Linked DNA regions of Homo sapiens: all the other regions are linked to region 1. Evidence: promoter capture Hi-C in 16 types of primary human blood cells and fetal thymus (Javierre and others, 2016). All regions are on one chromosome and are shown on one strand. The core of a region is centred on a gene start or on the middle of the fragment in contact, and the rest is flanking DNA. Distances in the headings are between cores, read along the strand shown.

What was found. The method cuts DNA at HindIII sites, captures the fragments that hold promoters and counts their contacts. A CHiCAGO score of 5 or more calls a contact.
Region 2: a contact is called between a fragment that was not itself captured here and the fragment with the promoter of TTC14 in region 1, in 3 of 17 cell types (M2 macrophages, endothelial precursors and M1 macrophages). The highest score is 7.9, in M2 macrophages.
Region 3: a contact is called between a fragment that was not itself captured here and the fragment with the promoter of TTC14 in region 1, in 3 of 17 cell types (endothelial precursors, M2 macrophages and M0 macrophages). The highest score is 6.6, in endothelial precursors.
Region 4: a contact is called between a fragment that was not itself captured here and the fragment with the promoter of TTC14 in region 1, in 2 of 17 cell types (M2 macrophages and endothelial precursors). The highest score is 5.6, in M2 macrophages.
Region 5: a fragment that was not itself captured here is called in contact with the fragment with the promoter of TTC14 in region 1 in 3 of 17 cell types (M1 macrophages, M2 macrophages and M0 macrophages); the score reaches 10.0 in M1 macrophages.
Region 6: a contact is called between a fragment that was not itself captured here and the fragment with the promoter of TTC14 in region 1, in 1 of 17 cell types (endothelial precursors). The highest score is 5.0, in endothelial precursors.
Region 7: a contact is called between a fragment that was not itself captured here and the fragment with the promoter of TTC14 in region 1, in 5 of 17 cell types (endothelial precursors, M2 macrophages, M1 macrophages and 2 more). The highest score is 21.4, in endothelial precursors.

What each region holds. Positions count from the first base shown.
Region 1 is chr3:180,599,984-180,603,921 of GRCh38, reverse strand. It overlaps TTC14 (tetratricopeptide repeat domain 14), which reads right to left and starts at 1,759. Exons shown (of 12, transcript NM_133462.4): 1 at 1,500-1,759; 2 at 907-1,031; 3 at 599-798. The coding sequence starts at 1,660. TTC14-DT (TTC14 divergent transcript) reads left to right here and starts at 1,809. Exons shown (of 3, transcript NR_183700.1): 1 at 1,809-2,019. RefSeq lists an enhancer at 1,679-1,968. The HindIII fragment of the contact is 2,365 bases long and covers 1-2,103 here.
Region 2 is chr3:179,793,638-179,797,575 of GRCh38, reverse strand. PEX5L (peroxisomal biogenesis factor 5 like) reads left to right here. Exons shown (of 15, transcript NM_016559.3): 15 at 1-2,618. LOC124909464 (a long non-coding RNA gene) reads right to left here. Exons shown (of 2, transcript XR_007096183.1): 2 at 1,680-1,895. Among named protein-coding and RNA genes, the nearest start is that of PEX5L-AS2, 100 kb to the left of the region's middle. The HindIII fragment of the contact is 4,807 bases long and covers 1-3,938 here.
Region 3 is chr3:179,815,361-179,819,298 of GRCh38, reverse strand. It overlaps PEX5L (peroxisomal biogenesis factor 5 like), which reads left to right. Exons shown (of 15, transcript NM_016559.3): 10 at 3,295-3,438. Among named protein-coding and RNA genes, the nearest start is that of PEX5L-AS2, 81 kb to the left of the region's middle. The HindIII fragment of the contact is 5,838 bases long and covers 1-3,938 here.
Region 4 is chr3:179,834,799-179,838,736 of GRCh38, reverse strand. All of the region lies in intron 8 of PEX5L (peroxisomal biogenesis factor 5 like), which reads left to right. Among named protein-coding and RNA genes, the nearest start is that of PEX5L-AS2, 61 kb to the left of the region's middle. The HindIII fragment of the contact is 3,962 bases long and covers 33-3,938 here.
Region 5 is chr3:179,852,994-179,856,931 of GRCh38, reverse strand. The region is part of intron 8 of PEX5L (peroxisomal biogenesis factor 5 like); the gene reads left to right. Among named protein-coding and RNA genes, the nearest start is that of PEX5L-AS2, 43 kb to the left of the region's middle. The HindIII fragment of the contact is 6,436 bases long and covers 1-3,938 here.
Region 6 is chr3:179,886,160-179,890,097 of GRCh38, reverse strand. PEX5L (peroxisomal biogenesis factor 5 like) reads left to right here. Exons shown (of 15, transcript NM_016559.3): 4 at 2,314-2,425. Among named protein-coding and RNA genes, the nearest start is that of PEX5L-AS2, 10 kb to the left of the region's middle. The HindIII fragment of the contact is 3,074 bases long and covers 518-3,591 here.
Region 7 is chr3:179,925,521-179,929,458 of GRCh38, reverse strand. The region is part of intron 2 of PEX5L (peroxisomal biogenesis factor 5 like); the gene reads left to right. Among named protein-coding and RNA genes, the nearest start is that of PEX5L-AS2, 29 kb to the right of the region's middle. The HindIII fragment of the contact is 829 bases long and covers 1,455-2,283 here.

The DNA of each region.
Region 1 (3,938 bases), core at 510-3,009:
TTCCAGTGAAAATGAAATGCCAATTCTCCAAAGTATTTTGTCTGTTATCCAATCTGTAATACCTTCTGCTTTTCTTCCTTTTTATCTGCCTGGATAGATGGCAAATACCCAATCTTTTATCGTGACACATTAGTTTAAATTCAGGACTATCCATCTTGGGCAAAGTATCTTAATATAATGTACAAACCACTTACATTTAATTATTGTAAATATATAAATGAAACTTCTCTCCAAATTATCCACATGAAAATATACAATGCCAAATATTAACTAATTAAGAATACATATGTTCAACTACAAGAAATAAGTCTGAATATCAATCAACCTCACCACGTCCACTGATACCTCTTTGAGCATTTAGAAAAGAACACTGTGCCTGCCAACCAGTTTAAATTTAAAAAATCCCAAAAACCAGAAATGGAGGGAGAAACTGGGTAACTTACACTAATTTTTTTAAACTATTTTTCTCCAATTAACATTTAATTTCCAAAAGCATCTTGGCAGGTATACTTGAGCACAACTGCATGCAAAGATATAGTTCTTGCATTGAGATGCGTTAACAAAAACAGAAGCAATCCAAGTAACAAAAATAACTTACTGTGATTTCTAAGTGGGCTATATCTCTCATGATACCACTTCCTAAACAGATCAACACCATGAAAAAACCGAATTCCCGAATAGAACTAATTCTTCCAATCACTATATCACCACGCTCAATATCTCGGAAAAACAGCTCTCTCCGATCCATACTAGGTATCTCCATGAATTGCTCTAAAGGTGGCATGATTGCATAATGATCTAAAAAAAAAAAATTAACAAAATCACTAACGATAGTTTTGAGTTCCGTTTCACCTGAAGTACTGTTAAACCGAACCGCAATCTTAAAGATTTTAAGGCTAAACTGACCTTCACTGTCTTCATTAATTTCAGAAGTTGCAGGTGCATCTGATTTCCAGGAAAGTGCAAAAAGCAGATCCGCTTTTTTGGAGATGAATTTCTGTATCTCGATGTTGTCAACTCTCTTCTCTTTTCTTAAAAAGAAAAAAATATATATGAAAATTGGGTTATCTGCAAAGCCTCTTTACTTCTAACCTTCTGCTTATGGCTTTCATCGCCCATTCCGCTCCATCCTAAGCTGCAGACAATACAACCTCAGACAAAAAGTTTTAACTAGGCATTCCCTCATTAACCAACCTGGAGGTGGAGAGCGGGGAAACTTAAAAAGTGACGCCTCCAACTCAGATAGGAAAGCTCAAGGGATTTTTAGCTAAGGAATCTGCGCCTCTACCAAGCAGTGCCAGAGAAAAAGTTCAGCCCGCATCCCGCATTGCACAACCCAGGAGCGCCCCCCGTCCACCCAGCCCAAGACACCAGCGCGCGATCGTCCTGTGCTCACGGCCGCGGCTCCACTTCCTCTAGACGCAAACCCGGGGCTGCGGTAGTGGCTGCCAGAGCTGCGTCCCCTCTTCCGTGGCGCAGTGGCACCAACGTCTCATTACCTGCCCTGCAACGGGTGCTGGGGCGGCGGGCCCCGGGCTGGCTCGGCGGCCGACCCCAGGAGGCTACGGAAGTGTGGATTGTCCTGCTGTTCGCTCCGAAGTAGAGAGAGCAAAGACGACCCGTGGCAATTTAGCGACTGCCGCAAAAGGTCCCGGTCCATGGCTAGAGAATGCAGGGCCCGGAGGCCGACGGGCTGATAGTTCCCTGTTCCGTGTCCGCTACTTGAGCCGGGTGGTACAGGAAGCGGAAGAAACTGTCTGGAGGCTGCCGGAAGTACACAGACAGCACAACCAGTTACACCCGGAAGTGTTCTGGGGTCGCCCCCACGGCGGCGCGGCGGAGCTCAGCCTCGATCTCGCGAAACCGAGCGAGACTACGGAAGGCCGAAGGATTGGGCTCAGCATTGCTTGGGCTAAAGGCTGACTAGGGCTTCCAGGAAGTGATGTATGTGAGAAGTTTGCTTTTTAAAGTGTACGTGGGATCGTTATTACGTCGAAATAGCTCGAGCTGTAACCTAGGGTAAATAATAATTCCTTTTCGTATTCATCAAGGTGCTTCTAAGTGCCAGTGCCAGGGTAAGAACCCTATACGAGTCTCCAAGCTTCTTCCCTCGACGTACTCTCTGCGTAAATCAATACCTGTGTCTCTGGCGTAACCCCATTCAACCGGCTGCTCCGGGAAGGTTTCCAGGTGGTTTTAAGGGCAGAAGAAAGGAAGGACACGGACATTTGTTAAGCACCTGGAGTGGTGTTCTCCATCCATACCCCATTTACTGTTAGTGATTGTGAATTCTAAAACCAGGATGGCTTTAATGTCTCCACACGTGCATATGCCATTCAAGTTTTACAATAACTAATGAACACATGCATTTCTTATTTAGTTTATCTCAATGGTTGCTCAAAATTTAGTGTCTGTGGGACTTACTGTATAGTGGTATGTACGCAAAAGTCAATATACTGTTCTTATGGACAATTCAAGTGATTTTCAAAGGGAATTTCAACTTAGGTCCCCCATCCCCTTACTTACTGACTTGAGAACCTAACCACTATGGTAGCTATTGTACTTTTTCATTTTAGAAAACGAGGAAACATGCTCAGAGAGTCCCAGTAAATTGCTCAATGGCACACAGCTAGTAAGAGGCTAGAGTTAGGATTCCAAACGAAGTATTAATTGGTCTTCTCAGGCAGAGTTGCTGGATTGAGTATTTTATCATATGGAAGGTCTAACTAACCCTAATTTTGAGATCATGTAGCTTCGTTTTATTCCAGTATAAAATTTGTACCATTTAAATATGTTCAGTGTAAATAGTTCAGTATAGTCCTCTTGAACAGAAATAAACGGTGACAGTTAGTCTCTCCACTTCCCACCATGTGTCTTTGAGGAAATCAACTTGCCTTTCACTGTGTTACCACTTTTGTATAGGAGATCTAGCCCAGAACATAATCGATACTGCCACACTGTTTTGTGGAAAACCCAGGCAAATAGGTAAACAGTTTGAGACTTGAGAAAATGCAACAAACAAGAATGCAACTGTAAAAGATAAATTTGGGTTAGGCACGGTGGCTCACACCTGTAATCCCAGTACTTTGGGAGGCCGAGGGTGGATCACTTGAGGTCAGGAGTTCAGAGACCAGCTTGGCCACCATGGCCTAACCCCGTCTCTACTAAAAATACAAAAATTAGCCGAGCGTGGTGGCTCATGCCTGTAGTCCCAGCTACTCGGGAGGCTGAGGCACGAGAATCTCTTGAACTCCGGAGGCGGGGGTTGTAATGAACTGAGATCGCGCCACGGCAGTCCAGCTTGGGCGCCGGAGGGAGACTCCGTCTCAATAAATAAATAAATAAATAAATTTCAAGCTTCTATAGGCATATCAACTTTAATAAATGGTACAGACTGACTTGTTTTAAGCCATAACTCTAGAGAATGGTTGTTTTTAGGAAAGAGTGCTGTCACTGAAAAGGAAAGCTGACCACTAAAAATTATTATAGACATCTTGATAAGTATGTGATTTGTGTTAGAGTCAATCTGTGATCAAGGACCTCATTTTTTGGAGGGACTAAGAAACCGGTGTCTGAGAACCAGACACCAAATAGTGTTACTTAGCCTGGGAATGTCACCTTCTGAGGCCATTCTTCAGTAGCACATGGTTTTATCACTATGGGATCTGTCTATACTTCTTCCTAATTCCAACACTAGGATAACCCTCCCCCACCTCATACCTTGAACATCTGAAATGGCCGTGAACATAGAAAGCAGCTCCTTTTAGGGGGTAAACAGCATTTATCAAGAGTGATATTTTTCGTATAGTAGTGACAGAAGAAATGCACTTTAAGCAAATGTACTCAAAACTCAGCGTGGGATTTTCTGTCTTTGGTTAGTTCCTTATGTGAAAGTAGCCACATTAGTTGGGTGCCGAAGGCAGTCTTATTCTTTACTT
Region 2 (3,938 bases), core at 707-3,206, 810 kb after region 1:
GATAAACTCTGGCATAAAGTTTGTAAAAAAGCAATTTTTTAAAAGCAAAACGTATAACCTCAGGTACAAAAATATTGCATGCATTAGTATTGCAAATTTGCCTACTCAAATATTAACCAAAGCATGCAAGATAACTTGACTGAATTTAAATTTACACAGTGCATGATTAAGTCTCATAGGTTAGCCTGTTGTTCCTTGCCTCTATACAAGGGAGCATTTTTATGAACTTTGTGTTACAGTTTTTCTATTTGCTTTTCTTATCCTATCCTTGAGATTGTTTTCATGCTATCACACTGAACTTTACAGATATTCACACATCTGGTTTCTACAGTGTTACCAGTGCCAAACTAATCCTCTGAAGAATCTGGGACATCTAAACACTTTTTCAAAAACCAGTTGAGGCACAACAGATCCCAAACTTAAACAAATCCAAGTGTCTGAATGCTACTAAACTAAATCATGTTGACTGCCTCAGCACATAAAGGTTTCGACTTTAAATTCTTAATAATGCATTTCAAAATTTTTCTAAAAGTTTGGGAATAAATTAGAAAAACTGATATTCTAAATAAGGCGAGGAGGTTGGGGTAATGTCAGGCACATCAAAATCATCACACAACGAAGTAGATATGGGGCCTTAATTTTCATAAATGTCACATAGCAAGTGTGTGGGGTATCACAACATTGTTCTGATACAGCCCTGTTTGTATGGTAGTTGAGCTGCTTGGGCTAAATGTCCCTTGAGAAACTGGACTTGATCAACAGGTCTAAAAACACTGATATTTAGGGAGTGATGAGGTGATTTCACGGTCACTCAGAACCAACTCTGAAATCTTCTCACTGCCTTTTCCCATAACCCCTATTTTATGAGGAGACCAGAAAGGGAGAGAGCAAAGCTCAGTGAGACCATGTGGTCTTACATTAGTAACAGCTTTGTTACTCACTCCATATACCCCGGTACCCTCACACACATACCATGAACTCAAAGACAGAATTCTACACATAACACACATAGCAAAGACGATTGTGGGGAGGCATTAAACAGTTAAGAGGAAAAAAAAAAACACAGAAAATTAAACTGTGAGGTTTAACAACCTCTCATGTGGTATTTTGCCTTGAACGAAGTTTCCACTACCTGCAGCTTCTGCAGAAATACCAAAATAACACAGTCTAGAGACAAGTGTCCCAATGTCAGAACTGTTTTCTCAGGACCTTCTCTATAAGAGAAAACTAACTTGCAATGCTGCAGAATGTCAGAGCAAAACCCTGATGAGCTCCGTGGGATACTTAATAGAAGCCTGCACTCAAAATAATATTAAGATGGAAACAACAACAACAATTAGGCAGTTCTTTGCTCAACTATAAAATGTGTATCATTCATTGGGGGAGGGGGAGGGGTCGTGTTCTTTGGATTTCTTGGAAAGGGAAATGGTATAACACAAAAAGACTAAGAGGTATACACACTCAGCTCGGTAATTCGAGCATTTGGCATTTTCACTGAGATATATAGCATTTCTGCATGGATACCATACAAGAATTCTGCCATGTGAGAAATGTGTTCATGATGGACTACATTACCAGTAGTTAAGGGAAATACAGCAAACTTAAGTTTTTACCAACTTCCTTTCATGTTCCCTATATATCATCTAACCCAAACTTTCAATTTACATTGCCCAAATTTGTTTACATTGGTTGAAAAAAAACTGATTAATTTATTAAACTTTTTACAAACTGTAACAAACATTTAACTATTTAGAAAAGACATTTCTACATATTTTATATATCTATGAATATTGCATCTCTAATCTAATCTAAAAATGTTGTTTTGAGACAATTCTTCTGTGATGCTTCCTCCTCATGCTCATAAATGTTTAAAGTCTTGGGATTTCATTTTCAGGCTGAAATAGATAACAAGAAAAAAATTTAAGTTTAAATGTTTACATTGCGTTACTAAATTAATACCAATTCAAATTAAGTGACCTATAGTAAATTAATGGCAATGGGGGGGAGGGGATTTTAAAGTGATTGGCATATTATGTGATACTGTATCAGTGATTTAGTGAAATAATATGTATCATAGCACAACTCTGTTGGGTATTAAGGCTTCATCTTAGTATTTCCCTGCGTTGCTCTTTGAAATAAAATTACTACCATAAAAATAACCTCTTATCATATTGATGTGTTTAATTTACTCAGTTGGCTTCTAATTTGCGTAACAAGATTAAGGTAGTATTTTTGTACTATTATTGGAAGCATGCCTTCCCTTTTTCACATTATTAAATTGTATTTATATTTGTGCAATTTTAAACTATGTTTTCAAATAAACTTTGTCTGCGGCTTCGAGGTCTTTTCAGGAATCTTTCAAAATGGGATTTGGGGATCAGAACTCCTTCTGATCAAATGGAATCCAATTTGTACTACTGGCTAAAGGTCCTTTTATTAAATATTGAATATCACTACATATGATTTTGCATGAGCTATCTGGAAATCAGGAATGCATTTTTGGATATAAAACAAAACTTTAAAAATCTTCCTCCTTTGTTAATTTTTTAAGACTAAAATATTATTTAACCTGAAATTGAATTTTGTGATTCTTTTTAGAATAAAAATATTAAAATAAATTTCAGTTTTAGGGTCTTTTGGTTTTCTGGTCAGTCAATAAATATTTAGATACAAATTATGTGCTGACACCATTCTGGGCGTAGGACACAGTAGTAAGTGAATGAAATCAAACTTGCCCTTGAAGAACTTAGATTTCTGTGAAAGGATGCCTACAAATACTTTAACAAATAAGAATGCCATGTGCTACAACGTACTAGAACAAGGCAAATAAGTTATTATGAGAATGAGTGGAGGGGCTCCTTTATCTGTAGGTGGTCAGATAAGTTTTCTCTTACATGACATTTGGACTGAGATTTGCTGACAGGTAGAGTTGGCACAACGCTACTGGCAGAGCCAATAGCTTGTGCAAGATCCCAAGGCAGCAATGAGCTTAGTGTGCATTCAGGAAGAAGGGGGGCTGGGGTGGTGAGGGCTGTGAGCTGCACGACCTTAGTAGACAGCCTGGCAGGTGGAAGATCATGGGAGGCCTTCCCAGAGCAGATTCAAGGGCAAATTTGCTCCACGCAAAGATGACGGTGTTCAGACTGAGGTTTCTGTTCTTCCAAACCATTTTCAAAATAAAGTCCTTGAGTCAGGTTGGCAGGGGAGGGAACTGCAGGCTAAGCGAAGAGAGCTATACAGCAAGAGACTGGAGCATCCCTTTCTCACTTGTCACTGTTCCATCTGTCAATCTGAGGCAGCCCCTGACCTTCATAAAATTCCATTTTTTCCCCTATAAAATCAAGGTGTACATATTTCTTTCCCGCTTCGCTGCTGCGCTATGTAAGATAAAAATCCAACTACGTAGTGATAAATTGAGGCTTCTCCCCCACTCCTTGAATATCTCAAGCCTATTTCATATCCCCTACTTCCACTTTTTAAATGTAAACTATATGAATTTCCTGAAATAGCTGCGTTCTCTCCATGTGTATATAAGAGAAACTGAAGGTTGAAGAGTTCTTTATATTCTTTACAAGTTTCCTTAAAGTAATATCTTAATGACCCAACACTTTAGGGCTCGTGAAGGACTTTTTTTTTTCTTTCTTACATCTATAATAAATAATGTTACCTGGTAATCATCTTAATGCATCAGAATTTGGGGAACTGACAGCTAATTTTAGTATTTTTCCCTGTGGAACTAACCTGCTGATCCTCAGTAGGCCCCATGCTTAAGGTTGCTTCCCTGAGCCATCTGGAAATGAAGCAACTGGAGTTCTTTGAAAGGGGGACACAGAAGCAGCTGATATTTACTGAAACTGTGGCAGATTCCTAGGCTCGACGTTTCTACTCTGCCATTTAACTCCAATGGATATTCTTGTCCCAAGTTTCTGCCTACTGCA
Region 3 (3,938 bases), core at 443-2,942, 780 kb after region 1:
GAACAACCAGCCAAATCACTCATGAAGTCCCAGTTGCTCTAGGATTTATGCATTTAAAAACACTTGGTGGGGTTGGGGGGAACACTGAGGAATAAGTGTAAATGACTTGAAAGAAAAATGTGGAACTTTCTTACCTAAAAGAGCATATATCACAATAGCCAAGATATAGAAGCAACCTAAGTGTCCATCAACAGACAAATGGATAAAAAACAATGTGAGCCTGAACAACAGAGTGAGACCCTGTCTCTACCAAAAAAAAAAAAGAAAGAACTGTAGTTCTACAGTTCTACAGGAGACTATAGGGGACTACGCCTGTAGTCCCCAGCTACTCAGGAGGCTGAGGTGGGAGGATCACTTCAACCCCAGGAGGTCAAGGCTGCAGTGAGCTGTGATGGTGTCAGTACACAGCCTGGACAACAGAATGAGACCCTGTCTTAAAAAAAAAAAAAAGAAAAGAAAAGAAAATGTGGTACATATATACAATGGAGTACCATTCAGCCATAAAAAAGAATGGCATCCTGTCATTTATAACAACATGGATGGAATTGGAGGTCATTATGTTAAGTAAAATAAGCCAGGCACAGAAAGACAGACTTCATATGTTCTCACTTGTTTGTGGGAGCTAAATTTAAAACAAATGAACTCATGTGAATGGAGGGTAGAATGATGGTTACCAGAGGCTGGGAAGGGTAATGGGCAGGGGAGGGGGGTAGGGAACTGGGGATGGTTAATGGGTACAAAAACATAGTTACATAGAATGAACAAAATCTAGTATTTTATAGCATATTGGGTGACTACACTCAACAATAATTTATTGTACCTTTTAAAATAACTAAAACAGTATAATTGGATTCTTTATAACACAAAAAAAGGATACATGCTTGAGGTGATGATATCCCATTTACCCTGATGTGACTGTTACACACATCACATACGTGTATGCCTGTATGCCTGTATCAAAATATCTCATGTACCCCATAAATACATATACCTATTAGGTACCCACAAAAATTAAAAATTAATTAATTAATTAAAAGAATAAAAGAAAAACTATATATAGATAAGTATATATTATTATTTTGTGGCGGAGGAAGTCTCAGTAATATTCAGTTCTGGATAGCATTCATGATATTTTGCTAATGCAACAAATATTTATTGAGTATCTACTCTTACACTAAGTACTGGGGATGTGATGACGAATAGTCTCCGATTTTAGTAGATCTGCAATCTACATAGTCATTAAAATGTCTCTCTCCTCCAAATACTCTGTCCCTCAATGGGCCAGGCAATCTCATAAAATTAGAACAACCATCTCATTAAAAGTAACTGTCTTTTCCACAAGGAAATCATAGCTAAGTGAGAACACAGGACATTGATTCAGATCATCAGACTCTGGGCTGTAACTCGTGCCCCCGAGGTCTGCCTGAGCTCCATAGCCCCTTACTCCCAGAACCCCATACCCACACTAACCCCACATAAGCCAGTCACACCCTGTGGCTTTTGATGGGGCATTTTGTCCTTCTAAGCACCTATGGAGACTGAAGGCCTCCACTTGATCTACTCTTAAACCTTAGTAACATCATCAACACACTAGCTTATTTGTATCTATCAAATTTAAAAGATTTTATGACAATCTATGCAAGTAAAATTGCAACAAATAACATCTCTCAGATACTTCAGATGAGAGTTTAAATTGGACAAATTTTTCTCAAAAACAATTTAGCTACACATTTCAAGGGCTTAAAAATAGCTCATAACCTTTAACCTAATAAATCCCTCTGGGAGTCTATCCTAAGGTAATAAGTACATGCAGCAAAGATTTGTGCATAAGGCTTTCACCGTAGTTTTATTTATGATAACAAAAACTTTAAAATAACCTGAATGTTCATCAATAGGGGATTGAGTAAATAAATATAGCCTATCCATGGGAATAATTTTAATAACATAGAGAAATCACAATATAAAACTAAGCGAGGCCTAAGCTACAAGACTGCCTATGTAATATGTGCCTACTTGTTTAATTTATATGCTCATAGAAAATACCAGTTATTTATACATCCTGTATTCTTTAAATTTTTACAATTAAAAAAAAATCTTTAACTTTAAAACATGCATGCTCAACAGGGGCAATATAGCCCCCAACAGGCAAAAACTGGTTCAGGGTGAAGGCAAAAAAATTCTTAGCTATGACAATGGTTTGTAGTTCTCCAAAGGGCCCTAGTAGGTAAACAGATATACAGTATGTGGGATTCATATTTCGGGGTATGGGTGGTAGCACTTAGCAAAAACATGTCTAAAGAATCAGTATTTTTAAAATCTTGAGGGGAAACTGTTGAAACAAAAAGAACAAAAAATATCAGAAGAAAGCAAACTCAAAAATATTAGTGGTCGTATCTCGGTTGTGGCATTACAGGTAACTTTTTGTATCTTTTTATATTATTTAGTATTATCTAAACTTTATACAATGAAAATGTACTATATTCATAATAAGGAAAAGCAGAAATTTAAATTTAAAATAAATAATAATTAATCAAAATAAATAAATTTAATTTAAAATTGTTTATTATGCTTTAAGTTCTGAGATACCTGTGCAGAACATGCAAGTTTGTTACATAGGTATACACGTGCCATGGTGGTTTGCTGCAGCCATCAACCCATCATCTACATTAAGTATTTCTCCTGTTGCTATCCCTCCCCTAGCCCCCGACCCCTCAACAGGCCCCAGTGTGTGATGTTCCCCTCCCTGTGTCCACGTGTTCTCATTGTTCAACTCCCACTTATGAGTGAGAACATGCGGTGTTTGGTTTTCTGTTCCTATGTTAGTTTGCTGAGAATGATGGTTTCCAGCTTCATCCATGTCCCTGAAAAGGACATGAACTCATCCTTTTTATGGCTGTATAGTATTCCATGGTGTATATGTGCCACATTTTCTTTATCCAGTCTATCATTGATGGGCATTTGGTTTGGTTCCAAGTCTTTGCTATTGTGAATAGTGCTGCAGTAAACATATGTGTGCATTTGTCTTTATAGTAGAATGATCCTTTGGGTATATACTCAGTAATGGGATTGCTGGGCCAAATGATATTTCTGGTTCTAGATCCTTGAGGAATCACCACACTGTCTTCCACAATGGCTGAACTAATTTACACTCCCACCAACAGTGTAAAAGTGTTCCTGTTTCTCCACATTCTCTCCAGCATCTGTTGTTTCCTGACTTTTTAATGAGAACTTATTGAATGTGAGAATGAGAAGAGAAATCAATGGCTCATGCACTGGCCTTTTTCTGTGTTGCAGGGATATTACTTTCACACTGAAAACCCCTTCAAGGACTGGCCTGGAGCATTTGAAGAAGGCTTAAAAAGGCTGAAGGAAGGGGATCTGCCAGTCACCATCCTGTTCATGGAAGCAGCAATTCTTCAGGACCCTGGAGATGCAGAGGTGTCATTCTCCCTTCATTCTGCCAGACTCAGAAAGGGCATGTGCTAACAAGGGACAGATAACACAGAACTCTGCTGGGTCAGCTTTTCATCAAGTAAAGGTTCCCAGAGGAGTTAACCTAGCTTAGTCTACTTGTTTAAAAGTTACAAATAAGTACCCGTTTTCTAACCAAATTTCTAATTGGCAGTGTTTACAGTGCCTATAAATAAAGATTGGGGGCAGGAAAAGAAAAATCAAAATTACCAACCTGAAGGCTTATCAGTAGTTTTCTTTTTTTGAGACAAGTCTTGCTCTGTCAACCAGGCTGGTGTGAAATGGCGCAATCTCTGCTCACTGCAACCTCCGCCTCCCAGGTTCAAGCGATTCCCCTGCCTCACCATCCCTAGTAGCTGAGATTACAGGTGCCTGTCACCACGCCCAGCTAATTTTTGTATTTCTAGTAGAGACAGAGTTTCACCATGTTGGTCAGGCTGGTCTCGAACTCCTGACCTCAAGTGATC
Region 4 (3,938 bases), core at 764-3,263, 770 kb after region 1:
ACAAGTATCAAGCATCTATTATTTGTCAAGCTTGTACTGTTTTGCACACACATTTTCTATCTTACTTAATCTTCAAAATAATTCTAACAGTTATTAGTTAGACAACAGTCAAGATGCAAACCCAAGTCTTGCAGCAACAAGGATAGTGATGTTTTGTACATAACAATGTAAAATTTCCCAGGCCTAATAAAAGACATAGGTTTACAATCTAAACATTTTAATTCCTAGTCAAACTCACAGAACTTATCAGAAGCAAATGAATGTTTGGCTTTTAAAAAAGTGACTGTTGATATTTGTTTAAGAGAAGCTATAGTAAAGGTCACCATTACTTTTAATACTCTTGAAATTGAATGTTTGTGTTTTGAGGACATATCAGTATGTAGAGGCAGCCCAGTACAACCAAGTTAAATGCAACTTAAGGAAACTTTAATTTTTCTGAAATCTGAATCACATGATATCTCTGATTTTTACCTGTTTTTAATTTCCTTTTCTCAAATTGTTATTGGAATAAACAGACAAAACACAAGTGGAAAAAAACGTTATTAGTACTAGGTAATAAGAAGGAATGCCACTAAAAGGCCAGAAATTTTGAAGAATTTCAAAAACATTTTAAGATTATTCTTGAAAGAAAAGATACATAACGTCTTTATTGACAGTCTGTATCTAAAAATTTGATTTTTCAGCAAACACTGGAAGGCCAAGGTAGGTATTTGATGGATGGCTACATGCAAACATTTAAAACTTTTGGGGGAATGCAACACAGCAGGAAGACTACTCTATGGCCATCAGGAGGATAATACTGAGAGTTTGGATGCACTCCTTAGCCAGGGTTCTCACGAACTAAATCAACTAAAATCTAATAGATCCAACAGTGAGCCAGATGAGGAGTCTACCTGTTTTAACCAAGCAGCCTGTTTATTAATTTTTACAACTGAGTTTTGACAATACCCAACGTATTTATCCGTGTGCAACAAGAAATGCCAGCAACTGCACAGATTTCTCCATGTTCAGCTAGTAGGTAGCAATTCCACTATTTAGCATCCCATGACTGGGTTAAATCAGAACAGATAGTGCGAACAAGTTAGTCTAAAAGTCTAACTCTATAAAAGGGACCACTTGTACCAATTGAGCAAACAGTTATGTAAGGGATGTTGCTAAAGTTAGCCACCGGGTGGACTAAAGGATCTCTTAGGCTGCATAAAGATCTGGGTATGGCATGATGACATAATGGATCCAATGCTTCATCAAGTTATTCACAGAAGCTACTGATTGTGAAGTTACAGCATTATCCTGCCAAGTGAAAGAGGTAGGCATAAGTGAAGAAAAATTAAGAGAGTTAAGAGTCTCATCATGATGAGGAGTCTTGTTCCAATGTCTTGGGAAAAGCTGTTCACAGTAGGAAGTCAACAACTTCTCATTCTGATTTGCAGTTTGAAGGTCTCAGTTACGGCATCAGGTACTTTGGTAAACTCAGTGTGGCCTACATATAAGGAATGAGACTTGTTCCCTGAAATTTCTATTGAATTGTTCACTTTCAGCTTATAGGTTTTCAGGAACAGAGCAATTCTTTTTCTTAGTTGAAAATTTATAGCCAGATATTGAAAGAAACTAGAATTTAGGATCCAGTCCAGTCTACAGGTAGATAACAAAAACTCAAAAGAAATGAATAGGAATACAATCTAACAACAATGTATTATAGTTTTTCTTCTAAAATATAATTTTTCTCTCTATAGTCACCCCCATTTCTGTCAAAGATAATCAAAGTAAGACTAATTTTTTGCAAAATAGTCTCATCAAACTTGGCCTGATTATTTACATAACTGCAGCATGAATAGTGATTGACCACATAGGCTCTTTTTAAGTCTGCTTTGCTGGCATTTTTGATAAGGTATCTCAGATTAGACTTTTCAAAATCTCTCAAGGCTAAGAAGCCCAAACCAAGGTAGACTTCAGACTTTAGTCTAAAATATACCACCTGAATAATCCCATGACTACTGTCAAAAGACAAAACCACAACAAATTTGGTTAAATGATCTAATTGGTTTTTATTTGTGATTCATGAATAAGCATAGCGTCTACCTAATTCTAAAAATTTAGAAAAGGTTATCTGATGAGCTGTGCAGAAGAAGTTGACTTTATAAGCAAAAAAGAGGCTAAAGAAAACAGAAACAGGGACCCAAAAGAGGCCTGTTTGGGGATCTGTCTCTTCTCTCTCTCCTGATTTCTCAAAAGGTCAAATAAATCACTTAGTTTTGGTGGCCTGTAACTTCAGCATGAGTGACTCCATTTTGATTTGGTCTCTTGGGCCTAGTATAGGAGCTCAGTGCAAATCAATGGCCTCTTTATTGATATGTAAATATATCCATAATAAAGGATTATAAAATTATGTGCACAGTAAAGTTCTACTTTCACAAAATAAGTATACATCTAATGTTTGTTGAGCACTTATGTTCCAGCCACTCTGCCAAATATTTTATAAGTGTTATAAAATGTGCTCCTCCTGACTATCCTGTGAAGTAGGCATTTTAACTCCTTTTTATAGATGAGAAAACTAGAGCTCACAGAAGGAAATAACTGGCCCTTGGATTCAGAGTTGACGAGCAACGGTTTTTACATGTAAATGTAAGGGGAAAACCTAAAATAAGATATACTGAAGTGCTCTCAGTGATTACATCTAGACAGTAAAATTAGGAAGGTTATTTTTTCTTTTTGTTCATGTATTTGTCTAATTTGCCTACAATGAACTTGGTTTGCCTACATTATTTTCTAAAAATTTTCTGAAGTATTTGATCAAAAAATACCAATACAGATACCTAAATGAAATAAAAATCATTGTTTTCTCATATTTTGAGTGAATTTTAGGAAGTCTCTAAAATACTCTCCTAACACCCACTTAAATCTAATTTTGAAGATTTCAGTGATCCCTAATTTAAATCTGCTTTAATCCCATTCCGGGCCATCTGGACAGTTAATGGGCTCTTTGGAGTTCCCCATATGAAAATAGAGCATGTTTATCGTTTATTTTCCTTAAATATTTAGTTAAAATGTGGGACTACAATTATCCCTGAAAACAATCTTTTAATTATTCAAAAGTCATGACAGCATAACTTTAGATGCAACTATGACCTTCAATTCACATTTCTCTTGAGTCAGCAATGTTCTTCAGATTCTAAATATACTTTTAAAAAATAAATCACAAGCTCTGCCTCCCAGAGAAAAAAGACAAAGCCACTATTGCTGTTTTGTCCTCTCAGAACTTAGGATTGTTTTGTGCTGTGCTAGTTAGCAGCAACCATTACCGACTGATATATTGTCTCACATCTCTGTGAACATTCAAATGATATAAGAAAAGTGTTTTTATTTAAAAAAAAAAAGCAACAACAATAACATCACCTAACCCTGGTATAACTCTTCACAACTTACAGAAATATTTTCCAAACATTTGGATGTGAGGAAAGGTTATTTGATTTGGCTGAGATCACATCTCTAGGGGAGTGGTAGCACCAGGACAAGAGTGTATGTTTTCTGACTTGGTGCAGAATACTTTTCAACACCCCAGCTGTTCCTTCCAAGTGATTGTGAGACCCTTGAGGTCAGGAACTGGCTTTTTCAGCTTCATAGTCTAAGAACATAGCTGCCTCCTCCAGCTTCTGTAGCCCCAGGAACCTGGTGCTCTTTAGTTTGTAGCCACACCACTCCAGTCTCTGCCTCCATCTTCACAGGCCATCTTCCTTCTATGTCTTCGTGTGTCTTGAAATGGCATCTCCTCTCTTTGTTTACATGTTCTTCTTACGAGGAAATCAGCCGTATTGGATTAAGAGCCCACCCTAAGAACCTCGTCTGAACTTGATTACATCTGCAAAGACCCAATTTCCAAGCAAGGTCATATTTATAAATTCTGGGTGTTAGAACTTAAAAATATCATTTTGAGGAACACA
Region 5 (3,938 bases), core at 609-3,108, 750 kb after region 1:
CATTCTACTTTAGTTTCATATCACCTGTAAGTTGAGGGGCTTGGATTCCCAATATACTAAAACCCTGTAAGTTTATGTCTTCAAGTAAAAAGAATGGTAAGTACAGAATTCCCAGCAAATCAGAAAACTATAAGCAGAGTTGCTTAACCAGAAGCCTGGTACTGGGAAGCCTCCCTAAGGAATGAAGGGAAATGGTGCCCACCAGAAGGTGTGAACAGGTGTGGAGAAAAAAGTGTGTGAATGCGTGGGGAAGGAGGAGATAAAGTATTTACATTAAGCTGATGGTAAATCATGCCTCCAAAACTTCACACATATTTACTTCCAGACATTATTCTTACCCAGGGTATTATCTAAATTCATAGCGGAAGACATAATAATATGCCTCAGAAGAGTCTTGGAAATATTTATGCTCATCGACCCAGCCACTTCATAGAATTTATCCTAGAGACGTAACTTGAAAGTTGCAATATTTTATCTGTAGAATTTCATTGAATAGTGAAAATTTGGAAAAAGCCGAAGTATCCCATAACAGAGTTTAACTAAAATTATATCATATCCTTATAGCAAAATACTATGTAACTATTAAAAATGTCTAGCAATAATTGAAATAGTAGTTTATATATGGAAAGTTTTACAGTATAATCCCAACTTTGTAAAATGATAACAGCATAATAGGTAACATGTTAAAGAATGTACTATGTGTGAGGTACTAAATCAGGAAAATTACATGGCTTATGTCCTTTAATCATCACAGCAGTGCTATGAAGAAAGTAAGATTACTATTCCATTTTTCAGAAGAGAAAACTGAGGCTTAAAGACCTTGCAGACAGTTATGTGGCATTTTATAAGCCATTAAGATAGACTGAAAGTCAACTAGCAAGTTGAAAAACAAGTTTAGCAAGTTGCAAAGCAACGATTCTCACCCAGACTCCAGAGTTTGTATTCTGAACCACTGCATTGTATGAACATAGAGTTTGTCTTAGTCCATTTGAGCTGCTATAACAAAATAACCTGAGATATGGTCATTTATAAGTAGTAGAAATGTATTGCTCACAGTTCTGGAGGCTGAAAAGCTCAAGATCAAGTTGCCAACAGATTTGGTGTCTGCTGAGGGCCCATTCCTCATAGATGGCACCTTCTTGCTGGGTCCTCACATGGCAGAAGGGCAAAAAAGGCTAACAAATTCCCTCAGGCCTCTTGTGTAAGGGCACTAATCCCATTCATGACAGCCCCGCCCTCGTGACCTAATCACCTCCCAAAGGCCCTACCTCTTAATATATCACCTTTGGAGTTAGGTTTCAACATACGAATTTGAGGGAACACATTCAGACCATAGCAGATTCTGTGCCCAAATGTTAGCAATAGTTATTCTTGGGTGGCTGGATTTGGAATGGATTTTTGCTTCTCCTGTTGGCTTATTTGTATTTTCCAAATGTTCTTTCATAAAGATGTATTATGTTGATAATCAAGGGGAAAGTTGTAAGTCATGGACACTACAGTGGGATATAAGATTCTTAAAAGGACTAAAAGTGTCTTATTCTTTATTTCAAGACAAAGAATGGTGATGCAGATTGCTTTCATCAGAGGCAATTTTAAATACTAGTAAGCTCCAGATGAAAATCATGCCTGGAGCAAGTTGAATTTTTCCAAAATCTCTGCCTTATGTTTTTATATCATCTGATTCCAACGTTCTTCCTATTTTACATTCTATTCCATTTTTTGTTATCATCCTGCCTCATGATCGGCACCTGGCCACCTCTCCACTCTTTCTTCTTCTTCTCAGTCCCCTTACTGAGCTCCAGGTGTTTTGGCTTCTGCCTTTCTCTCTGTTCCTCTCCCACACCCAAGTTTACTGCCCACTGTCCCCACCTTCTCTTCTGTCTATATGGAACACTCTTTCCTCCGATCTTCAGGTGGCAGGTTCCTTCTTGACATTCAAATTTTAGCTGCATTGCCAATACCTCAGAAAAGCTGAACCTGATCACTCAATTGCCATTGCATCACCTAGGCCTTTGTTTTTCATCCTAGTATTTATCACTGGGTCCTTTCTTGTTTGTTTTTATTTATTTATCTGTCTATAATCTGTCTTTCTACTTTAAAAATGTAGCCTCCATGAGAAAAGGGGCCTAGTCTCTTATTTACCACTGTACCCTAATATCTAGAACAATGTCTGGTGCCTACGAATAATCAATAAATATTTGTTGACTGAATGGATGGATGAATGAAATTCATTCATTAATTAATGTTAATCACTCTGTATGGGTAACGCTTTTTTTCATCTATCTATTGTTGTATATAAAGTGCCATATAACCTTCCAACATAACTGTATCTCCATTTTAATAGTTGACATTAAACAATTCTGCCTGAAGCATACAGATTTCTGCCTGGGACTGGGCTGCAGTGTCCTCTGTAATTGTCTTGGTCTTGATGTCAGTCAGAGAGACACATTTATAAGAATGCAGGCTCCAACCAATCTTGCCAGTAACATTGGGCATATTTTGTATTTTAGATGGTATGAACCCATTTTTACTTATATTAATACCTGGAAATGTGCAAATCGACTAAGTTTTTGGCTGAAGTGCCCTAAAATACATTATCCACTGTTGGAGAAAAGACAACTAAAACCACATGAACATGTATTGTTTGTAGTAAATGACCTGGGAACCTGTTTATGTGCAAAGACTGTCATTCCTCAAGCTCACGTTGAACTCTTAGCTCTAGCTAAGCCTTATATGGGTGAGGATCTTTTCCTCCATATCTTAACATTGTATTGAAACATCAAGTCTGGCGTGGTGCCTCATGCCTGTAATCCTAGTCCTCTGGGAGGTGAGGTTTCACCATATTGCCAAGGCTGGTCTCAAACTCCTGGGCAGGCAGATTGCCTGAGCCCAGGAGTTTGAGACCAGCCTGGGCAACAAGGTGAAACCTCATCTCTACAAAAAGACAGAAAAATTAGCCAGTCATGGTGGCACGTACTTGTCATCCCAGATACTCAGGAGGCTGAGGTGGGAGGATCGCTTGAGCCCAGGATGTAGAGGCTACAGTGAACCCTGATCATGCTACTGCACTCCAGCCTGAATGACAGAAGGAGACCCTACCTCCAAAAAGAAGAAGAAGAATAAGAAGAAGAAGAGGAAGAGGAAGAGGAAGAAGAAGAAGAAGAAGAGGAGGAAGAAGAGAAAAGAAAAATTGTCTCTACCTAAAGTATTGTAATTTTAGGACAAAGAGATAGATACTCCCATTCTGGGCTTAAAAAATAAAATGCATCTTCCCTGAACAAAAGAGAGAGGAGCTTCCTCTATGCTTCCCCCTGGATTTTCCTTATAGCCAGCAGCCTAAATGCACTGTCCACTAGGTCCCTAGGAAGGATGCACAGGGAGGCACAGGAGTGACAAACTGCGAAGGAGCTCCCAGAGCTCAGTGAGGCCCAAAGCTGCCTCCCAGGAGTGGAGATTTCTACAGAGAATTATGCTTCATCTGCAGAGGAGAGAGAAGGTCATGTAAGAAGTCAGCACACTGCAACCACAAGCCAAAAATACCTCCTTCATCAACGTTAGCAGGAAGGGAAAGAGAGCCAGCCAGCATCTGGTATTGTGTTTAGCTAGTCTCTCTAAGTGCTGCAACATTTAGAATACATTGGATTTAGCAACACATTCATCAGACATGCCTTAGCTGCTTCCATGGGCCAGGCACTGTGCTGGGTGCTAGTAATAGAGAATTGAATAAGATCAATTCTGTCCTTAAGGAGTAATTAAGGTGAAGAATCACAGACAAATACAAACCAGGTGATCACTCAAGTATAGCTTACCATGTGATATAGTTATTATGGGTTTCATGTCGATCTCCCATACCAGATTGTGACTTCCTTCTTTATTCATCCTTCTTTATGTTCCCAGCACCTGCCATAGAGTCTGGTGCAAATTTTTACTGGATAAAT
Region 6 (3,938 bases), core at 805-3,304, 710 kb after region 1:
TGTATCAATGTACAGGTCCTTTGGAAACTGTTACATATGTACAGTTTGGACATGCACTAACTACAAATGAGATACAGATTCTGGGACACTAATCATATTTTTAGATGAGCTCACCGGATCACTGATGTTTAGCTATTTCATCATTTTCTAGTATATTGTATTCTATACCAGTGCTTTCAACTACATTTCCAGATAATAAAATTGACTTTTATGCCAGAAAGTATTACAAATCATTCCTAAACTCAAATAGACCATAGCATTTACAAAAATTCAAATATATTTTATTCCTGAAACATAGGCAGCTCATAGTCCCTCAACATTTAAAAATATTTTAATATATATAGAATGGGTGATACCCAGGAATGTTCAAATTCAGAAAAAATAAAAAGCACTGGGGCTCAGAGTTTCACTCATGAGTCAAAGCAGCATCCTAAAATAAAAGATTAATACCAAAAGAGGCCTTGGATTTGATTCCTAGCAAAATCTGCGAGGTTTTATACATAGTAATACCAAAGCTTACAATAATTGAAGAAAGATCTATCCCTGTAACTTGAACGTTAAAAGAAGAAAAGCGTTCTCAAAGCCCATCCCTCAATAACAAATTAATATGTATAAAAATCTAATTACCAACTCTATATTGAAATCTTAAACTCTAATGGACATCTGAGATTTACACATGTTTAAATGAGATTTATCCATCTTTAAATAGCATGCATATGAGTACTAAATGTGTCTCTTGGCTTCCAGTCTCCAAAAGACCACTAAGTGCTTCCATATTGCCCTTTCAGAAATAAAAGAAGTGCACTTTCTCCCCATAGTTACCATTACTCAGGTCCCCTGCCACCTTCCATCAGCTCTAAACTATGAGACTGCTGACACTGTGCCAGAGAAACAATGTAGCGAAGGTGAGTAGAGTAATATAAAATATTTTGATTTGGTAATACTCCAAAGCACTCCATTTGCTATTTTATGCCTCTTAAAATGCAACTTAACAAATAAGTTCTTAAAAAATCTAGAGATTGGCCAGGCACAGTGGCTCACACCTGTAATCTCAACACTTTAGGAGGTCGAGGTGGGAGAATTGCTTGAGCCCAGGAGTTCAAGACCAGCCTAGGCAAGATGGTGGGACCTTGTCTCTATAAAAATAAATTTAAAATTTTTAAAAATTAGCCGGCCATAGTGGTGCACACCTGTAGTCACAGCTATTTGGGATACTGAGATGCGAGGATAGCTTGAGCCCAGGAGTTCGAGGATGCGGTGAGTTATGATCATGCCACTGCACTCCAGCCTGGGTGACAGACATCCTGTGCCTATTTAAAAAACAAAAAACAAAACAAAACAAAAAAACCTAAAGATTATGAGGTGTGTCTTTTTCTTAAGCAAAAAACTAGATGATTATGCCTGTTTTATGAAAGGCAAATATAAAAGCTCCCCCACCCCCCCCAAAAAAAACAGTTAATTTAGGGATCAACCACCTGAGTATCAAAAGTGTGTTTTCTCCCTTAACCGTAGAAACATAACTCGGCAAGACGGGATTCAAAGAGGTGCAGAATGATTGAAAGTAAATAGTGGTTGCCACTGATAATTAGAGATCCACTAAAAAATCAAACTGAAAGATTGCTGAAATTAGAAAATGAGCTAATGGGAAAACACAATTGAATCTACCGAGATATATTTTACAAATAGATTTTATAAACGCATGTACTAGATACCTACACAGTTAATATAACAATATTTTCTACTCTCCCAAAATAATATTTGTTATGTAATACAAAAGCATTCCAAGGAAATGTAGAGGGTGTGTTTTTAGGTGACCTGAGCTTTTTAAGAGAGGGAGACGAGGCAGGCATTTATCCACCCACACTGATCCGTGTGTTTGCACTCCCCACATAAACACTGACTGAGCAGTGCTAACCAGAACATGTCATCTTTGAGTCTGAAGCCACTGGTCCAGGTCTCAGTAGGAGCTTTTGTCCAGGTGAGGAGTGGGATTGGCCCTTAGCAACTATGATTCAATACGTGTCATTTTCTATATATTGAAATTAGAGAATAATCATATTTCAGGAGGGGGGAGGAAAGGCTTGAGCTTTAAACATTGAAGTTGGCTGCATCAAAAATATGTTGACAGTGCTAAAAGGCTCATTCCCCACCTCTTGATATTTTTTCTTTCTTGCCCCCACCCCATTATTTATTTATGTATTTATTTATTTTTGGTAGGCTTGCTATTCTCATTTTGTTGCAAGGCTGCATTTTAATTCATCTGACTCTGCAGTTTAACAAAGCCCTTTGACACCTCTGTTCATTTGTTCTCAGCTGGTGAATGAGCAACAAGAAAGCAGACCCCTCCTGAGTCCCTCCATCGATGACTTTCTCTGTGAAACCAAATCGGAAGCAATAGCAAGGCCAGTAACATCCAATACAGCTGGTAATTCTCTCACTTTTAACTGTTCCTCAACTAGAGTTAATTTTAACTATAGTAAAATGCACATTTTTTCCATAATACATTTTAAGTGAGGAAAGAACGTTTGCAACCAAATGAAACTTTAGAATGTATACTATTTAGCATAAACCAATAAATCACAGAAATTGCAATGTATATTACCCAACCAATTTTGCAGAACATAAGTATACCACTATTAGCAATGAATCATGTTTTCATGTATATTTTCATATTTGCATATTTATATCTAAAGTCTCATCACATTAGAAAATCTTTAAAACAAAAACATCTCTTTCAGAGTAAGGTTTTCAAGTTCTGGCTGATGGTCCAATTATTTCTGGAAATATTTTGTATAACGGAAGTCCAGTAAATAAAAATGTGGCAACCTTTTCAAGTGGATTTAAATGACAAAATATCCTGCAGCTTTGGGATAGTATAGAGCCGGTTTCATTTTCTGTCATGTAAATGTGTTACTTGCTCCCCGTTACAACAATCTATTTGAATGTTCTCCTGGAATTAAACATTATCAAATAGTAAACCATCCCCTGCTCGGTGCCTGTCACATATAGGAATCGGCACTCAATAAGTATTAATCCAATGAGTGAGTACAGGATGCCACTGGCATAAATTACACTTCCCTTGTAGAGGCAGTCTTTCTGCATTGATTTCATTTGGTCAGCATTCACATTCAAAGTCATGTCATTCAAATAAGAATGAAAAAATGATGTTCAGAATCAAAGAACAAAGGTTATGTTGGATGTGCAGAGCGGAATTTAATGGAAAAAGAAAAGGATAATCACATACTGTCTTGTTAAATTTGTTCCATTTTGTCATCTTGGCCTCAGTTTGCTGTTGGCTTGCATATTTTCATTATATTTCTAAGTGAATAAAATCACAGGAGAAGGAAATCGTGATTTTTCCAAAATGCCAAAAATTACAAGAAGAGTAACTAGCATGAGATAGACAGGCTTGTTATGTGAGGTCATATTTTACAGTTTCTGGGTTCAAACTCCATGAATTCCAACCCCAGCTCTGTATCCAGGGGCATGTTGCTTAACTAAGCCTCAGTTTCTTCATTTGTCTGATAATAGTAAGATCTACATCTCGTAAGTTCATTGGAAAGATTAAAGGAAGCAATCCATGAAAAAGCTTAACACCATGTAAACTCTAACTGGTGTAAAAATTTCTGTTAGATTTTAGGTGAGAACAATATGTATTCCCTACACTTTCATTTTCAATTGCGTTGACTTTTTTATATCACACCACAGCAATCATTTTCTAAATTCAGCTCTCACTTTCAGTAATCAAGAAATTAAATGGTACTTGGCAAATTCTAGGTAGGAAATTAAACAAGTTCACATACTATCAGATGAGGTTCATTCCTCTGATCCGTGAAACAAGAGCTGGCCCCTTCAAAACTCGAGAACTACCCCAGGAAAATACAGATAACCTTGTATGTCCAATTGCAGGTGAATCAGTGAGAATTGTATGCACTGCA
Region 7 (3,938 bases), core at 620-3,119, 670 kb after region 1:
TATGAACTGTAAAATAAATGTAATACAGAATATGGACTGAAAATAAATGCAAAATTCTTTATACTTAGCTCTACTCTTTTGTCAAATAAATTTTAAATGAGGAATCAACTTTTAGGTTTTCTATATTTAGATTTAAGTACTTTGAGGATTTTTCCATCACAGATTTTCCATCCTTGAAACCACTTGCACAGAACTGACTCTGATCTGCTGCCCCCTGCTGTCAGCTAGGGAAGCAACCTGATTTTTAACTGTTTGGGAGGCTAGAGCTAATCCCTTAAAAAAAAATCAGGGTTTCTAAACATGTCACTTAGGATTATCCCTTGGTTTAGGTAATCCTTGCCGGTACTTTTCTTCATTAGAAGATTATTGAGACTTGATGGAATAAGTCATTATCATGTGAGCCCTACTGGCCTGACATGTTTCCCTTTTTGGATATAACTTAACAGAGTTAGAAAAGAAGAATAGAATTACAGCTGGATTCTCAGTAACTCACACTAATGACAGGGACAGCTGTTTACAAATTTCAGTCATCAGACTAAGGAGAATGTATGGAAAGGTAATGGCATGGAGGGGCTTCAAGCCTGGATCTTGATGATTTTGCTGGAATGGGTTAGGATTTAATTGCCTTCAGCAAAAACTGGGGCTTGTGCTCCAGTAGTTTTGTTCTTTATGTGATAAAATGGAATGAGTATAAGCCAACTCTAGGTCTTTGCCCTCAATTTTTCTCTGTCACATCAAAAGGGACTGCTGGGTTTTTATAAGAATCACTGAGTTTTAGATCTAACACAGAACTGTGCTTCCGGTGGTAGGTGATGGTTGCTTGCAGGAAATGATGGAAAATGCTTAAAATTCAATCCAGAATCAGTTGGAGAGTTGAGATTGTAACTCAGATACACAACTGTTTAAATGCTGTCCACTGCCTACCCACCATTTGTTGTAAATGGTTTTTAAAGGCCCCTCGACACATTGTTTGAAGCTTAAGTGGGGAAGGAAGGGTGTGTGTCCCCGAGAGGCCCTAGCACTCTCTCAGTCCCCACCCTCAGCCATTTGTAAATGGCTCTTTGTCTCCTGGGACCTCCTCCAAAAGGGATGGGTACAGGTGTTCCCAGTTGGATCACAGGCTGAAAATGTTGAGAATGGCTATTCTGAATTATGGTTGTAATTTAATCTGGCAAATATTATTGAGCTTCTCTCTGTAATAAAGTAGGCTCTGGTGATGCAGGAGCATATAAGCCCACCCAAAGGCTCACAATCTGGCTTCCTGTAAGCGTGCAAACTGGTTTTACTCAACTATTACTGAAGTAAAGAGAATTGTTGGCAAATGTTAAACAATTATATGAAAGGAACAGGCAGATAGTCCCTGGACCCACTGATCAACCTTAACATAAATAAAAGTGGGGAAACAAGACCTGTGCATTCAAATGCATTGCCTAAATTGGGATGTGCTGGAAGCTTAACATACAGAGTGACTTGGAAAGATTTAGTCCCAGAAATATATACTTCATTAATAATATTTTATGATCACATATTGAAATGATAATTTTTGATATATTAGGTTAAATAATTACAATAGAAAAGAAAATTATTGGCTAAAACTTCCCCCATTTAAACAGCAAACTAGTGTGCTAGTGACATGAGCATTTGCTACAGTTTACACTATTTCTCATAAGATGAAAACCAAAATCTTTAACTTAGCTTGCAAGGTTACACAAACGATGGTGAAGGGCAGGTTTTGTTTGGTTTTGTTTTTTTAATGTCCAATTCCTTGCAGATTGATGATTTTATAAAGAAAATAACAATTAATTTTTCAAATAAATGAAATGGAAAAAGTCACACAAAATGCAAGCCCAATTTTATTATTAGTTTAACAAACATAAAATTACTTTGTGAAATGGCTACAAAAATTTCTACAATGTAGACTTCCAATTTTTATACTTGCCTCATCCCCAGTAAGGTAGCAAACAGTTCACAGTCCACATACCACTCTCTGAGTGACACAGGCTAGCCCCTGCCTACCTCTCCCTATCACTCTCTGCAGGCAGCCACACTGGCCTGTTTCCCTTCTTAGAACATGCCTCTCTCCTTACACTGGCAGGACTCCCAACCCCTCTGTGCCTAGTTAATCGTAACTATCTTTCAGATCTCAAGCCACAGCCTCTGTCTTTACCCTGAGAGCCTACACTTAGTCAGGGTCCCTGTCTGTGCTCCATTGTACCATGTGCCTCTCTTTATCACACGTTTCACCATTTGGAAGAACCCGAGTCCTTCACTAAGCTGTAAGCTTACAGTGATGGCATCAGTCTTGTTCACCAGCGATCCCAAATGCCTAGGACATACTACATGCTCAGTAAATACTTGTTTAATTAATAGATAATTAAAAATAATTTGAGCTCACAAAATTCAAACTTTCATTTTTTAACTGAGAAAACTAACTTCCAGAGAGTTTAAACAATTTGCTTAAAAATTCCAAGGACATATATATTCAAAACTGAGACCCGGATCTGCCTAAGTCCACACCATTACTTTTTTCCTAAACACACTAAAATGGGGCATTACCCAGAAATCATAAAAATTGTTTTGGATGGTGACCATTTCTATGAGTTGAAGCCATTTCCAAAATTACCCAGAAAGTTTACACGGTTAAACAATATTTTATTTTGTATCTACTCATTCATTTCACAGATATTTGTTGAACACCTACCATGTGACAGGCATTACTCTAAATGTTGTGAATGTGGCAGTTGTGGAGAAAGCCCAGGGTTTCCTGAACAGCCTCATTCTAGTTGGAGAGACAACAGCAAACATAGAAAAATACCCATAATTGGCAATAAGTCCTTTGCACAGAATTAGCACGAGATAAAGGGATGGAGGGACTTTGAACAGAATTAGCACAAGATAAAGCAAAGGAGGGCCTATTTTGGATGATGTAATCAGGAGGCCCATCTGAGGAGGTGATGCTTGAATTGACACCTGAATATGAAAAGAGGCCGAGGAGTTCTGGTGGAAGGCAGAAGGGACAGCAACTGCAAAGCTGTGAGGTTGGAACAAGCCTTAGTAAGTTCCAAGAACAGCAAGTGTGGCTGGGCAGGAGGAGGTTCTGACTCCAGGATGAATGAGAAAGTAGGATCCAATCTTGGCTGGCTGGTCCGAGGGCACTGATGTAATCGGATTTGCCTTTTCCTCTGGTTGTTAAGGAGAGCACTGTGGGGTCAGATGGAAACAGTCCAGCAGCAAGAGGACCAGTTCAGGAGTCCAGCTGAGAGATGAGGGCAGGGTAGCAGCAGTGGTGGTGGCGAGAAGTGGTCGCATTCAAGATTTATTGACTCTGCTGATGGATTGGATATTGCAGGTGAGGAAAAAAGAGAACGTGGGATAATTGCCAGGCTTTTTGACTTGAGCAATTGAGTGAATATTAGTGCCAAAAACAGAAATATTGGAAGACTCAGGAGAAACATTTGGAGGGGGGAGATTGGTTTTAAATCAAGAGTAAAGCCATGTGTGGAGTAAATAGCACACAGAGTAGACCACAGAGAGAAAACAATTTTCAATATGGTCCATCAGAAACCTTGTGATGCTGACATTTTCTCCAATAATTTTACCTGCACTTGTATGTTGTGGTATATTAAGTATGTGAATAAGAAGATTTGGGCAGAATATTAGAATAATTAAATCAAGTAATTGAAACATTAATACTGGCATAGAATATTGGTATCATTTTTCTTTGTTTTGCCTAATATCAAGTTAATTTTCCTAAATTTAGAGATAGCGAGTTAAAACTGTTCCTTCATAATATGTAGCACTATTCACAAAATTATTTGTTACAGCAATGATTCTGTGTCAAAATAGGAAATAATCTAAATTGTCATCAATAAAGTAAATATAATCTTATAACTGAATATTATTATGCAGATATAACAAAAATAAATTCTTTATGCACT